5 separate regions of the Homo sapiens genome follow, and regions 1, 2, 3 and 4 are each linked to region 5. Evidence: promoter capture Hi-C in 16 types of primary human blood cells and fetal thymus (Javierre and others, 2016). All regions are on one chromosome and are shown on one strand. The core of a region is centred on a gene start or on the middle of the fragment in contact, and the rest is flanking DNA. Distances in the headings are between cores, read along the strand shown. Region 1 overlaps LOC105369896 (a long non-coding RNA gene). Region 2 has its middle 43 kb from the start of PLEKHG7. Region 3 overlaps LOC105369896 (a long non-coding RNA gene). Region 4 overlaps LOC105369896 (a long non-coding RNA gene). Region 5 holds the start of BTG1 (BTG anti-proliferation factor 1).

Region 1 (2,700 bases), core at 116-2,615, 580 kb after region 5:
CAAATTTAAGAGCTCATAATGCATTTAATTATTGTGACTCCTTTGTCTCCTTCAATCACTAATAGTTTGTAAATGTTTTGTTATCTTTCATGGCCTTGACACTTTTGATGAGCTCTAATAAGTCATTTTGTTGAATATTTGGATTTGTCTGATGTTTTGTCATGATCATACGGAGATTATGCATTTTTTGGCAAGGATACCACAGAAGTGTTGTCTTTTTGTCAGTACGCTATACCAGGGAGCACAATATTTTGATGTGCCGCATTGCTAGTGTGTTAACCTTGATTATCTGGTATAGGTGGTATCTGCTGAGTTTCACCACTATAAAGTTACTACATTCTCTTTATAATTGATAAATATCTTTGGAAAGCTACTTCGAGGTTATGCCAACATACTGTTTCTCTTCAAAATTTTGCCCTTTGATATTGACATCCATTGGTGGATAGCATATTTTGAACTTGTAAATATTGCATTGACACATGTATTGGGAAAGATGTGGAACTGCTCACTTTGAGTGAGGCCAGGGAAGAAAGACCACTTTAACAGATATGAGGAGCTATGCCACATAAGGCATATAACCTGGCAGTGCCATGGTTAGCGGCATCTGTGGGAAACAAAAATACCAAATGGAGCCCCTGGCAAGCCTAGTAGGAGAATCACAGCACAGACCTCTGAGATTATGGAACTAGGCCTTGCCATCTGCAGAAAAGAACTTATGTATCATTTGAAAAGCAGCTCATGACATGCTACAATGCCATGATAAAAAAAAAAATGTCTGACTATGGAAACTCAAGTAACCTTCATGTACTGACTACTATAAGACCAACCAAGATACAAGGTGAGGTAGGCTAATCAGCAATTTATCATAAGATGGCTATTATACATGAAGGATTGGAATTGAACATGCTAGAGATTACAGTAATCTTCACAAAAAGATGACCCACGTATTTATGCCAACTGTATGACACCACTCTTTCGACTCATTCCTGTGGCTTCATGAGCTATCAGCTGCGAGAGGAAGAAAAGGCCCAAACTGAGCTCATGAAAGGGCCAACTTAAAATATGTTTGTAAGATGGAATTTTGTTTTTCTGCAACAAAGTTCCAGGCAAGGATGGTCCTGGAAGATAGTGATGGAGGAAAATCCTATCAACTGGGAGAGTATTGGAAAGTACATCTGGTCATTCACTTAATGTGGAGAGAGAAGCAGCCTTAAGTAAGGGTATACATAAACTCATGAGCAATAAATAACTTAGCTCCCTGTTGAAGAGCCTATAATGAGTGAAATCAGAAGTTCAAGGAGGGGAAAAATGTGTATGGACTTATGGAAATGAACAGAAAGTATTAGCATCACTATACTACTTCTTAATGCCATTGTAGAAGAGGCACTAAGCAACCAAGTGGAGAGAATGACTTCACTAGCTGATGTCAGCTGGATTCTGTCCTCAGCCATCTTAATGCTAGCAAAATAGGTTCATGAATATTGTTCTCATTATGGTAGAGACAGAGGCTATTCGTTGACTCAACAGCTTGGGCTCCCTCTCACCAGCACTGGCCTAACTATTGCTTCCAGTGCAGGTCTGATCTTCCAGGAACAGAAAGTGAAACTGAACCCCAAATGGGGTAACATGCTTTGAGGAAAGCAGCCAACCATATATTGGCAATTAGATTACATCACATCTCTTGCACACTAAAAATCACAACATTCCTATTTCTGCTATAACAAATTACCACAAATGTAAGGCTTAAAACAGCACAAATTTATTTTCTTAGAATATTGAGGTCAGAAATTGAACATAGATCTCACTGGGCTGAAATAATAAAGAATGAGCTGTGCCCTCTGGAGGCTCTAGGGGAGTTTTCCTTTCCTTGTCTTTTCCAGCTTCTAGAGAATGCCTGCATTCCTTGCCCCATACTTCAAAGTGAACGGTGATCCCATCATCTACTTGCACAGTCACATATTCTTCTCAGACTCTCACTCTTCTGCCTCTCTCTTTCCTCTTTTAAGGATCCTTGTACTACATAAGTGCAAATATTTCTCTGGTATGAAAGTGCTGAGTTAAAAACCATACACCATTTAAGTGTTGCTAAGCTGAAAGATACTCCTACCGACAATTTATGATGTATGTGAGTACTCATTTCCCTGCATCATTGCCAAAATTGGGTTTCATAAATCTTTTAAATTTTATCTTATATTATGGACTAAATATGGTATTTCATTGGAGGAAATTTTCATATGCTATTTTTTTAAACTAGAAATGTCATTCATTGAAACTAAATGAGTGAAGGCAGGACTAATGGCAATTTAAAAATATTTTATTAAACCTTCTGCCTCTCATGTTAGACATAGTTATAGGCGAGATTCTACTATTACATAGAGATCTAGGCCTTCTTCCAAATTATAATGCATAGCATATGCTGAAAAATAGTCATATACTTATATATCATGTTTCAATTTTTATATTGAAAGTTATTGTAAATGGTTTGTGCTAAGATCAAACTATTCAAAATTTCCAAATTTCAAGTTTCCATTCACCTCCCTTCCTGGATTTAACCCCTCACCTCTGCAGCCTTTCCATTATGACATTACTTTTATAAACAATGACATTACTTTTACAAACATTTACCTGCCAAGAGTCATCCTCATTATCTGTATTTTCATTCTCTCTCCCTGCCCTCAAAGAGACCCCAGGGAACAATCT
Region 2 (2,738 bases), core at 138-2,637, 510 kb before region 5:
AGGGGCAATAATTCCTCAATATTGTCTAATACTCATACCATTTTAAATTTCCTCAGTTATCTTAAGAAGTTGGTTTGGTTTCAATCAGCCTCCAAAAAGGTCTACATACAGCATATGGTTGGGGTGTATTTTGAGTATTTCCTGATATAGGTGACTATATCAATTAGTTTTAGCTATTAAAGCACTACAAAGCTCAATGGCATAAATCAAGCTTGTCCAACCCATGGCCTACGGGACCACATGCAGCCCAGCATGGCTTTGGATGTGGCCCAACACAAATTTGCAAACTTTCTTAAAACATTATGAGATTTTTTTTGCAATTTTTTTAAAGCTCATCAGCTATCCTTAGTGTATTTTATGTGTGGCCAAAGGCAATTCTTCCCTTGTGGTCCAGGGAAGCCAAAAGATAGGATACCCCTGGTGTAAATCAACATCCCATTTTGGAAGAATTTGTGGTTTGGCGATTTGAGCTGGGCTCAGGTGTGAGAAGGTGCTAGGTCAGCTGGAGCCTGGCTGGTGTGTCGTGGTGGTTGGGGTACAAAGCTTACCTGGGATGGTTCATCTTTGTCCCAGGTGGTCTCTCATCCCCCAGTAGGCTACCCTGGGTTTACTCACCTGGTGTCAGGTTTTTTTTGTAGCAATTAGGAAATCCCAAAAGGTCTCTTAAAGCCTAGGCTTGAACTGCAATGCTGCTTTGTCACATTCCATTGGCCAAAGAAGGCACAAGACCAACTCCACCTGTTGATGGGAGAAATTGCAAAGCTATATTGCAAAGGACGTAGCTGTTAAGGAAGGGAATAATTTGTGAAAATTTTGGCAATCTACTATAGCCACTTACCAAACTTGTTTTGATTTCCATAACCCTTAAAATCTGTCAAAGAATACATATCTCCTAAAGCTTACATTTTAACTTCAAACTATTCTTAAATGAATAGAAATTGATCACTAATAAATTTTTAAGAAATATTGTCATTCAACACAGCCATATGATCTTTTTGTTCTTGTACAAAAAATTTTCTCATTTCCTTTAAGTGGTATAAAGGCATTTATTTCAATGCCTGAAAAAGTTTCATACAATGTATAACTAGAACATAATAAAAAGTTCGAGGGCCAGGTGTGATGGCTTATGCCTGTAATCCCAGCACTTTGAGAGGCCAAGGTGGGAAGATCACATGAACCCAGGAGTTCAAGACCAGGCTGGGCAATATGGTGAAACCTTGTCTCTACTAAAAAGACAAAAAATTAGCTGAGCATGGTGGCATGTGCCTGTAGTCCCAGCTACTCAAGAGGCTGAGGCGGGAGGATTGCTTGAGCCCAGGAGGTTGAAACTGCAGTGAGGCATGAATGGGCCATTACACTCCAGTCTGGGCAACAGAGTGAGACCCTGTTTCAAAAAAAAAAAAAAAGTTTTGATTCATTTTAATTTCAACATGTAAAATTGTAATGTTTTGTTTTGTTATTTTTCTCTTTCCAGAGGGTTACTAAATACATTAAACTGTTGGGAAGGGCATTGTATTTCTCTGGTCCAGGGCAATAATTCAATAGGGATCAAGGAAAGCTCTTTGTAAAAGCTATCTATAGGACAAGGGCTTAATTTATGTGGTGGTTTCTGCTAAATACCTTGCATTAAAGAAAAACTACCAACTGTTAAAGAGCAATGGCAGGTCAACTTACTTTGGTAGTAAAGGGACGTGATGATGAGAAGGTTGATCAAACAGGTGTAAATCTTTTCTGAATCTACAGTTTTAATTTTGCCTGATGATAAAATTATAGGCTTTATCATGATGAACTGCGGCCGGCTCATACTAGCTTGTGAGAGTCACTGGCCTCATATCTTTCTAATTCCATGTTCAGTAAAGTCATGTTGGAAGCTTGATATTGGCCAGAGTGAGAGTATTTACACCATGGAAACTGGCAAATGCTACAAAAGAGGGCCTCTTTTTGTTTTGTTTTTTTTTTTGATGGTCAGTTGTTAAACATTTGTAGCATACCACTGGCCTTTACCCACATAAAAAACAACAGGTACTGCTTTCCAGGCATATTTAAAAAGAGTTTCTTTTGCAATGAAGGACAGTAATCATGGAAGGAGGGGAGGGCTTCCCTTGGCATCTTTTCCATCCATATGTGTCTCCAGATTGCTGGTAGCCTGGTTGAGTATGAGCAAAGATTAAGAAATGAGAAGCAGAGACCAGGGAAAGGAACAGGGAATGTGCCTGGTCCTTTGCTTACGCTATTGACTCTGACTTTCATCGGGCTCAGGCCAGACATGCTCTTCAGCTTGTTTCTAAGTGCTCAACATCCTCTGAGTCTTTTAACAAGAAATGTAGAAATGGAAGCAATTCTTCATATGTTACGGAATTCAGCTACTTGCCATGCAGCCCTGATGAAATCCCTTACCTGCCACAGTGTTTCCCATCTGCGAATCAGAGATGGGAAATCTGCTCCTCCTCATTGTGCAAGTAGTTATGGTTAAAGCCAGGTTAGGTTGCCTCTCCCTGTAGAGTAATAAATGGAATAGGATGAGATAATTCTTAAGAGTCCCTCTGAAGAGGGCTCTCCATGGAGAAGGAAAAGGAGAAGGAAATTTGGAAGCCGTCGGGTAAGACCTTGTTGAAACTGTAGTTCATAGAATAGCAGCATTGGTGTCACCTGGGAGTTTGTCAGAAACGCAAAATCTTAGGCCCTACCCAGAACTATTGCATCAGAATCTGCATTTTGACAAGATTCCAGGTGAATTT
Region 3 (2,700 bases), core at 99-2,598, 570 kb after region 5:
ATTGGGTTTTAGAAAATATTAAACTCTAGCTTTTTCACTTTTCATCATTATAAAATTCCTGAAGCTAATCAATGAGCAAAACATTAGTAGTACTGCTACTTCATGTAAGTTATGTAGCACCCTGAGCTCTTTGGCAAAAAATGACTCTAAAACATAATATATGTTAACATATGTAAAGTGGATAGTGACTGATTTTCAAAACATTATTCATACATGTGTGACTTTAATTAGGAAGCTATAATAGATACACTATGAATTTTCATGAAGAAAAAAAACAGCATCTGGACTTGAGATTCTACACAAAGAAAAAGCTGGGTTTCTTCCTTCTTGTCCAGAGTATATAAAACCTATATTTCCTTCAGTCAGAATTTTCTCAAAAATAGCAAACTAAAACTCTAGTAAAATCAATCAGCTTTCACCACCAGTTTTAAAAATGGTAATTCAAAGCTTGTAAAAAAAGGACCGTGATTCCACATTTTTAATTTTCTCACAGAACTATAACTTGAAAATATGTTCTATACATTACTATTTTGTATATGTAGTTTTTAAAGATATTAACTTGTTACAAGTATATTTCTCTGAAGATGTTCATCTTTTTTGCTGTTTCTTTTAAATTATTTTCAACTGTAAACCTACTGAGATTTGAGTTTTTTAGCACTGTCAAAAAATACTTACTTCAAGAAACATTATTCTCCTAAATGTATAGAAGATATTTCAAGAGATCATAATTTCATATTAGATATTCATAAAGAATTTTCTTTCATAAAATAAACAGATTTTTGCCATTTTATAAATGCACATAAAAGCAGTAACTGTTCTTAATTTACCAACATTTCTTTTTGCCTCCTAGAACACTTACATCTGATATAATAAGATAATTACTAAGTGTCTTATAAGTGTTTCTTTAATGTATCATCTCTCCCAAAACTTTGAAATCTCCTGGAAGACAATAAACTGCTGAAATAATTCTTTCCCCTCTTCTGTTATTAAACATAAAATAAGCATTCAAACATATTTGTTTGATTCAACAATTGAAAATTAATTTGAATACTACCCATTCAATGCAAATAACTATACATATACAAAAATTATGGGTCATTATCATCCTTTAAGTCAAGTAAATAAGTAATTGTTCTAAGAAATTAAAAAGCTATATTTTTCCTTTATTGTTAAATGTTAAATAATTCAATATTGCTTCCTTGCAAAATTACTCAATGAATATATATTGCTTTGATCATTCAAAGTTATGTATATATACACATACATATACACACATACATGGATATTCAACTATTTGCTGTGCACTGTGTTGGATCCATTGTACGTGTTTTCTTTCTTTCCTCCCAACATCTCTTAAAAACATAATTGTCTTCACATTACAGATGAGGGAGCTGAAGATTAGAGAAGCACAATTAATTGTCTAAGGTTTTACTGTCAGTAACAATCAAAGCTGAGATTTAAATGCAAGTATTTAGAATGCAAATTTAATTATATTTCCAAAATATTACAGCTAATTCTTCACATGCATATTCTATCTTCAAACAAATGGGTATTACTGGTATATATTAAGTACATATATAACATACTGAAGCACATTCTAAGAGATAGAGTAGCCTGTAAACATAGATCAGCAACTGTAAATGGATACACAGTAAGGCATATACAGGTACAGGACTGGCTTTCTTGACTTGACATTAAGTATATGCACCAAGTAAAAGAGAGCTGCATTTCAGCCCTTTTCAGTGTGGCTCTTATTTGGGTTAGAAAAATGGTGATTATTTTTTATGACAGGAAGGATCAGATCATCTTAATTCATCATCTCCTTTGCATTCACTCTGAATCATTTTTCTGTCTTGGCCTACAAATTAGTAATGTTTTTTATTGCTTAACAATGCAAAGAATTATCTCATCATCTAAGTTCAACTCTATAATATTTAAGTTAATCAATATTTGCCATTTGTTAGGCATATGATAGATATTCAGATATTTACTAAGTTTAGACTGTATGACGGATTTTCTCTGAAACTAAGACCACTAGGTCAGTTAAAGTATTCCATCCAAACCCCACTGTGAATTATATTGCTGATTTTAAATGAGCTTCTATCCAGGCTGTTCAAGCACATGTTTCTTTCAGATCTTTGGCATCTCTGATTTTATTCTACCTTCAGGAATTAGGAAAATCAAGCTGAGTCCTTTAGTTTTATGTTTCCTCTGTATAAGTAGCGTCTACAATAAATACCAAAGCTTAAAGATTAATAAATCCCTCCACGTACAACAGGATTTATGACAGAAAACTGCAGTATTTTTACTAATTATTACAAATGACAATTGAAAATACTCACTTCTGGCTTTGCTCTTTTTATGACTGTAAAAGCCACTAGCATAAGGATGCCTCTTTTTGGTTAGGCTCATAATCTTTGATTTATCTTCTTCAATTCTGAGAAAATAAGCACTGAGGGGGGTCTGGTTTATATTACTGGGACAAGACAATGGCTCTAATCTGCAATCTTCTATTTTGTTTCTGCTGTTCAAAGACCAATTTCAATTTTAACTTGCCTGTTGTCCCTTTTCTGTTGGTAGAAAGCTGTTTTGATTACAGGAGGGGTGGAGGTGGTGGGGGTGAGGTGATGTCAGTGGTGATGGTGGTGGTGTTGTGTGTGTGCCTGTGTGTGTGTGTGTGTGTGTGTGTGTGTGTGTGCG
Region 4 (2,700 bases), core at 128-2,627, 760 kb after region 5:
ATGGGAGTAGGAAACTGGGAATGGCAGTACCTATCCCACACATTTGCTCTTTTATCACAGGCATTCTGTAATTGTTTGTTGAGAGAACAAATACATTAGCAAACTTGAAGTAATGTTTCTTGCAATGTATATAACAATATTAAGTAAAATATTCTTTACTTCATTTCATAGCCTCTGATCTCAAGGATCACAAAACACATTGAGTATTTTTTATGTCACTGATCACTCCCTTTTAGTTTTGAATGTAGGTATTCATTTCTCTTAGAAGGGAATTTGAGACCCATAATCCATAAACAGATCATGCATATGCATAAAACAAATGTGATCTCCATGGTACCAAATATACAGGGTATCTGTTTTCTTCAGTAACTTGATTCAGTGGTTTTACATAGCCTTAAGATTACATGGTCAGTCAGAAGTAGGGCTTGGATGTCTGACTATTTTCCCCATAAACAGAAGGACAATATAATTTATAGTCCATACTTGGGACACCTTTGAGAGTGAATGGGGTGCTATTAATTATGTTGTAACAAGAGATGTAAACAAAAAACATTCTGGGACATGTGCGACGTATAGTCACCCTACTCTATAGAACTGTGACTCTAATTCTCCTATAGGCTACATTAAGTTGTTTGCTTAATATACACCCAAAACTGTAATTCCAATTGATTTCCTGTGGTTTCTTGGGTCACTGTATTGAGAAAGATATTAAGGCCGCTTCCAGATGTCACAGAAAAGGGTGCTGTGTTTCACTGGTGATGCCTGGTGGCTGACAAATGTGAATGAAAGGACAATGGTAGGAGTGCCCCTCACTTATGATTCCTGATCTAGAACTGAGAATCCACAGCTGTTTGCACTTCTACACTAGGTTCCTAGGAAGTAGTTATTTCCTCAATATTGACTCCTCCTCCATTTTGGTGCTTCAGTTCCCTTTGTGAGGATCTGGATTTCATATGACTTAGGCCATTCATAACCAAGATTTGCTGCTAACTTTCTAGACTTTATAAATTTGCTACTTACCATTTCCAGTTCTAGCTGTGCTACTCAGGATTCTTGATTTCTTGTCTATCCATACCGTCACAATTATAGACTTTTTTGTAAAATCACTTCCACCTAATTTTGGAATTACTGGGCTTCCAGTCCTCATGACCATACCCTTTACCTAGTGCATGGCTACGGGATCTTGTCTTTTATATAGCTTGGCTTCCATTTTTTAGCTTCCTAGCTATGACCAATTTCTCCCTGGCACCTGTAACTAGCAAAATCCTAAGTCCTTACATAACAGTTAATCTCAAAATCTAGTTTCCAAGCCAGTGCTCTCTCAAAGGTCTGTTGTTCTGTTTCCAAAATTAGCAATGAAACATGATGCAGGTATTTCTGATAAGAGGAGGATTTCATAATAAAATTACTCAGAAAAGTATCTCAATTATCAATTTTGTTTCAGCACAGAAGACAGAGCCTGAATGATCTTTGCCAAGTCCCTCAACTTAGTGTTTACAAAACTTCAAAATGTTTACTTAATATAATAATGACAAATCCCAGAGAGTTTTGTGAAGAATAACATAAAAGTCAGAAGGGCTTGCTTTGTTAATGCTAATTAACCCATTTGTGCCTGAAGCTGCAATTTTTTGAATTTTTGCAATCAGATCTTGGTGATGACCTTGAGCAGCAGGATATAAATAACTCCCAGATGCTTAGCGTTCCAATAATGGAACACTAGGCATAAATGGATCAGGACACCTGTCCTAATTCCATTATAGGATTGTACTGAGGAACGAATGCAGTGATAAATAACACAGTTGTTAGAAAATATAAACTATGGTCTTTTGTATAATGCAAATCTCAGATATGTTAGAAATGGCTTTTGTATTATTTATCTTAATCTAACGTAGTTTTAACTCCAAGACTCAATTCTACCATATTGCCAAGAATTCCTCTAGCCTTTTCAAAATAGCACCAGAGACTGGGAGCCTTAAATCTTCATGAAAATAGGGAAGAAGCTGATGTTCTGGCTAACATGGTCACTTCTGATTTTTTCACTATCCAGAAGATCCCCTTGACATCTGGCAGTTCTCAAGTGCTTGTGTACCAGTCTCAGGTGGGAATCTTTGGTCATGTTTGGAACGAACCCAGCTGTGGTCCCATCTCCTGGTAGCCATCTCTCACTTCTGCGGGCTCCTGACATCTAATATTCAACTCTGGAGTCATCCTGCCTTCTCCCACATTCATCTGAGGACCAGGGCTGTGGTTCCACTGCCCTAGGGCCTATGACCAATGAGCCTCTCTCCTCTGGGGGAAGACTCTCCACCCCTGGCTTCTACAAATTCTTCCTTGTCTTCTTTACTGCATGGGCAGGTGGGACAGGATGATTTCTTTCCATTTCCCCATCTCTTCTTCTCTCACTGGGCATCCTGATGGTGGCACAGGGGCAGCTAGGTGTCAGGGCTGGGACTTGAGCAACTCAATAGCTGACAGGCTCAGGGAGATAGGGAAATACATCACTGACAGCCTCGGCCTCTTCCTCTACAATCACCTCATTCTATTTCCAAACTCAATGCTGGACTCCCTCTCATGGGTTGTTGCACATTTGGTGATGAATTTCTTTAACTGGCTCTAGGCCAGGATGATAAAGCAAAGACTATAAAACACACAGAATTACTGCAAAGAAACAGAACCCACATTCTTTCCAGATATTGCATG
Region 5 (2,822 bases), core at 191-2,690:
AACGTTTTCTCCTGTTTTATAATGTCATTATTTTTGCTTCATTTCTATATCCTTTAGCTCAGTATTAAAAAGAAAAAAAAAACACTCAAAGTGGTGTGTTTTGCAATATTGATGATCAACTAAGGTCGGGATATTTATTTCCATCTGGTAGAGTTCAACTTCTGCCTCCTGTTTGCTTTCTCCATCTGCCTGCCTCCCTTCATCTTTCTTTTTTTCTTTTCCCCCTTCTCCTTAATGGAGTTGGGGTTAACCCTGTCTTAGGCCTAATCGTTTTAGCAGGCTCCCGCCTTCCTGTTACACTGGTTTTTAAGGTTGTTTTTTTTTTTTTTTGGTAGGGTTTCAAATAAACTTGAATGTCTACACTTAATACTTTCACAAGCTTCAAATTCTTTTTATTTTATTTTTATAAAGAGCAGGACTCAGGCTAGGACGGCATTTGGACTAGGTAAAAAAGAAAATCTTCAGTTTTGTGCACACAAGTTTTAAAATACATTGTACAGATTTTTTTTTTTTGGATACACACCACTCTTTACAGGATCCGCGTTATATCTGCTTTCAGTAACTGGCTCTCCTGTCCGCATCCAGTAAGGTTTCCACTCTTCTCTCCGTTGACTGCTGAAGTTACTGAAACAGCAACCACAAATGGCCTTACTAACCTACTTATTTTGCAATTAAACTTTTAAAAGATATCCCCCTACTCCTCCCCTAGGGTGGAACAGAAATGGCTCCGCGGCGTTGGCAGCTCGTCTGCGAGGGGACCCTGGCTCCCCGAGGCTGCAGTCCTTTTTCTTGGACAGAACGCCCCGCAGGACCGTTCCCTCCACTTTCCCCCGCACTAAGGCAGCGCACCGCCAGCACACACAGCGCTGGCGCCCGCATCGCGCCGCACCACACGCGTCTCCGGCTTGAGGAGCCAGTCACCGAGACCCGGAGCGGGAACGAGATGTAAACACGGAGTGGGGACATGCAGCCCGATCTGAGAAGGCGGCGTGAAGAGTAGACACAGCCTGCGCCAGGCGGTTCTTATTTACCCAGCACTTACACTCCAGGGCAAGCGGGCCCAGGCAGCGCACTCTTGGAGAAGGATGCACTGGCGCAGAGCCTGGACCTGCTGAAGCGGGAAGGAGGAGCTAGGGCTGGGGGCGGAGCTTTCACACGCGCACCCTCTGTTCCCTCCCTCCCTCCCTCGACACAAGCAACTGGGTCTCCAGCCGCCACTCCGGGTTTATTTGTTTACAAGCGGATTACGTCAGCTCCTCCCTCTCTTCCCTATCTCTGGACCCGCCTCCTGAACTCTTTTCCCGCCCCTTTCGGCTCCGAACCGGCTTGCGTCACAATGGTGCGATATTCGGATTGGCTGGAGTCGGCCATCACGCTCCAGCTACGCCACTTCCTTTTCGTGGCACTATAAAGGGTGCTGCACGGCGCTTGCATCTCTTCGCCTCTCGGAGCTGGAAATGCAGCTATTGAGATCTTCGAATGCTGCGGAGCTGGAGGCGGAGGCAGCTGGGGAGGTCCGAGCGATGTGACCAGGCCGCCATCGCTCGTCTCTTCCTCTCTCCTGCCGCCTCCTGTCTCGAAAATAACTTTTTTAGTCTAAAGAAAGAAAGACAAAAGTAGTCGTCCGCCCCTCACGCCCTCTCTTCCTCTCAGCCTTCCGCCCGGTGAGGAAGCCCGGGGTGGCTGCTCCGCCGTCGGGGCCGCGCCGCCGAGCCCCAGCCGCCCCGGGCCGCCCCCGCACGCCGCCCCCATGCATCCCTTCTACACCCGGGCCGCCACCATGATAGGCGAGATCGCCGCCGCCGTGTCCTTCATCTCCAAGTTTCTCCGCACCAAGGGGCTCACGAGCGAGCGACAGCTGCAGACCTTCAGCCAGAGCCTGCAGGAGCTGCTGGCAGGTGAGCAGGGCGAGGGCGTCGGAGGGACGCGGGCCCCACATCCCTGGGTCAGAGTCCGGCCGTCGGGGCTGCGGGAACCTCGGCAGCGCCCCGGGGCCGGTCGCGCTTGGGCCCCGCCGCGGGACCGGTGTGGTTGCGCTGGGTGGCCGCTAACAGCGGTTCCCCGCGAGGCTTTAGGGGCTGGACGGAGGGCGCCCCCTTCCCCCCAGCTGGCAAAACGGAGAGGAGAAGACAACACGCACAACAAAGAAACTTAAGCCCACCGAGGCGGGAGCTGCGGTCCGAGGACCGTCGGCGGATTTGGGGACAAAGGAGCCGTGGGGCTGGGGTGGGTTCGACGTCCCCTTTCCTCAGCCCCCTCCAACCGTTGCGTGGTCGGCGGCCCAGCCCCGGGGTGGGAAGCTGCGCCGCTGCCCCGGAGCCAGCTCAGAACGGACGTGCCGTCTCCCCGCGCCTCCTGCCCCTGCCCATTAATCATCGGATTTGTCACCGGCACAATTAACAGCCCTGCCCAGAGCGTGGTTTAGGGTTGCTTGTTTTTCTTCCCTTCGGGGTTAACAGTCCGGTGGCGCTTCTCATCTCCAAAGCCATCAACTCCATTGTGTGCATCTGGGGTGGGGTGGAGAAAGTAAACAGTTTCTCGCCTGGCCATAGGTGCCAGTGGCTTCCCGACTGGCCGAGGCTGCGCGCCTGATTCCTGTTTTGGCGGCTCAACCGGTTGGTTCCTGGAGATTGTTTTGTCCGGTACTACTGTGTTATTTCTAAAACCCTGCCCGCTTTTTCCATCCCCGCACATGCACAACAACGGATGCAATCCTGGACATTTTAAAAAGTTGATAGTTTTCATTTTCGCTCCTCAAAGGAGCCTGGGGTAGGAGGAATCCGCAGTGGGAGCTAACGATCCTAAGCGTTGTTTCTCTGTTC

The links. Contacts are between HindIII fragments. The CHiCAGO score rates a contact against its expected background, and 5 or more counts as called.
Region 1: a fragment that was not itself captured here is called in contact with the fragment with the promoter of BTG1 in region 5 in 2 of 17 cell types (activated CD4 T cells and total CD4 T cells); the score reaches 6.0 in activated CD4 T cells.
Region 2: a contact is called between a fragment that was not itself captured here and the fragment with the promoter of BTG1 in region 5, in 3 of 17 cell types (M2 macrophages, M1 macrophages and total B cells). The highest score is 5.7, in M2 macrophages.
Region 3: a fragment that was not itself captured here is called in contact with the fragment with the promoter of BTG1 in region 5 in 9 of 17 cell types (non-activated CD4 T cells, M2 macrophages, naive CD4 T cells and 6 more); the score reaches 15.8 in non-activated CD4 T cells.
Region 4: a fragment that was not itself captured here is called in contact with the fragment with the promoter of BTG1 in region 5 in 14 of 17 cell types (naive CD4 T cells, total CD4 T cells, naive CD8 T cells and 11 more); the score reaches 26.8 in naive CD4 T cells.

What each region holds. Positions count from the first base shown.
Region 1 is chr12:91,561,497-91,564,196 of GRCh38, reverse strand. The region is part of intron 1 of LOC105369896 (a long non-coding RNA gene); the gene reads left to right. Among named protein-coding and RNA genes, the nearest start is that of LINC02823, 240 kb to the right of the region's middle. The HindIII fragment of the contact is 3,807 bases long and covers 1-2,700 here.
Region 2 is chr12:92,658,198-92,660,935 of GRCh38, reverse strand. No RefSeq gene overlaps it. Among named protein-coding and RNA genes, the nearest start is that of PLEKHG7, 43 kb to the left of the region's middle. The HindIII fragment of the contact is 973 bases long and covers 901-1,873 here.
Region 3 is chr12:91,579,155-91,581,854 of GRCh38, reverse strand. All of the region lies in intron 1 of LOC105369896 (a long non-coding RNA gene), which reads left to right. Among named protein-coding and RNA genes, the nearest start is that of LINC02823, 250 kb to the right of the region's middle. The HindIII fragment of the contact is 1,797 bases long and covers 450-2,246 here.
Region 4 is chr12:91,383,204-91,385,903 of GRCh38, reverse strand. The region is part of intron 4 of LOC105369896 (a long non-coding RNA gene); the gene reads left to right. Among named protein-coding and RNA genes, the nearest start is that of LINC02823, 58 kb to the right of the region's middle. The HindIII fragment of the contact is 3,526 bases long and covers 1-2,700 here.
Region 5 is chr12:92,144,464-92,147,285 of GRCh38, reverse strand. It overlaps BTG1 (BTG anti-proliferation factor 1), which reads left to right and starts at 1,440. Exons shown (of 2, transcript NM_001731.3): 1 at 1,440-1,898. The coding sequence starts at 1,751. BTG1-DT (BTG1 divergent transcript) reads right to left here and starts at 1,201. Exons shown (of 3, transcript NR_135036.1): 1 at 1,043-1,201; 2 at 524-624. RefSeq lists enhancers at 789-1,088, 1,923-2,459, 2,419-2,468, 2,729-2,778, 2,799-2,822 and a silencer at 1,679-1,998. The HindIII fragment of the contact is 11,880 bases long and covers 382-2,822 here.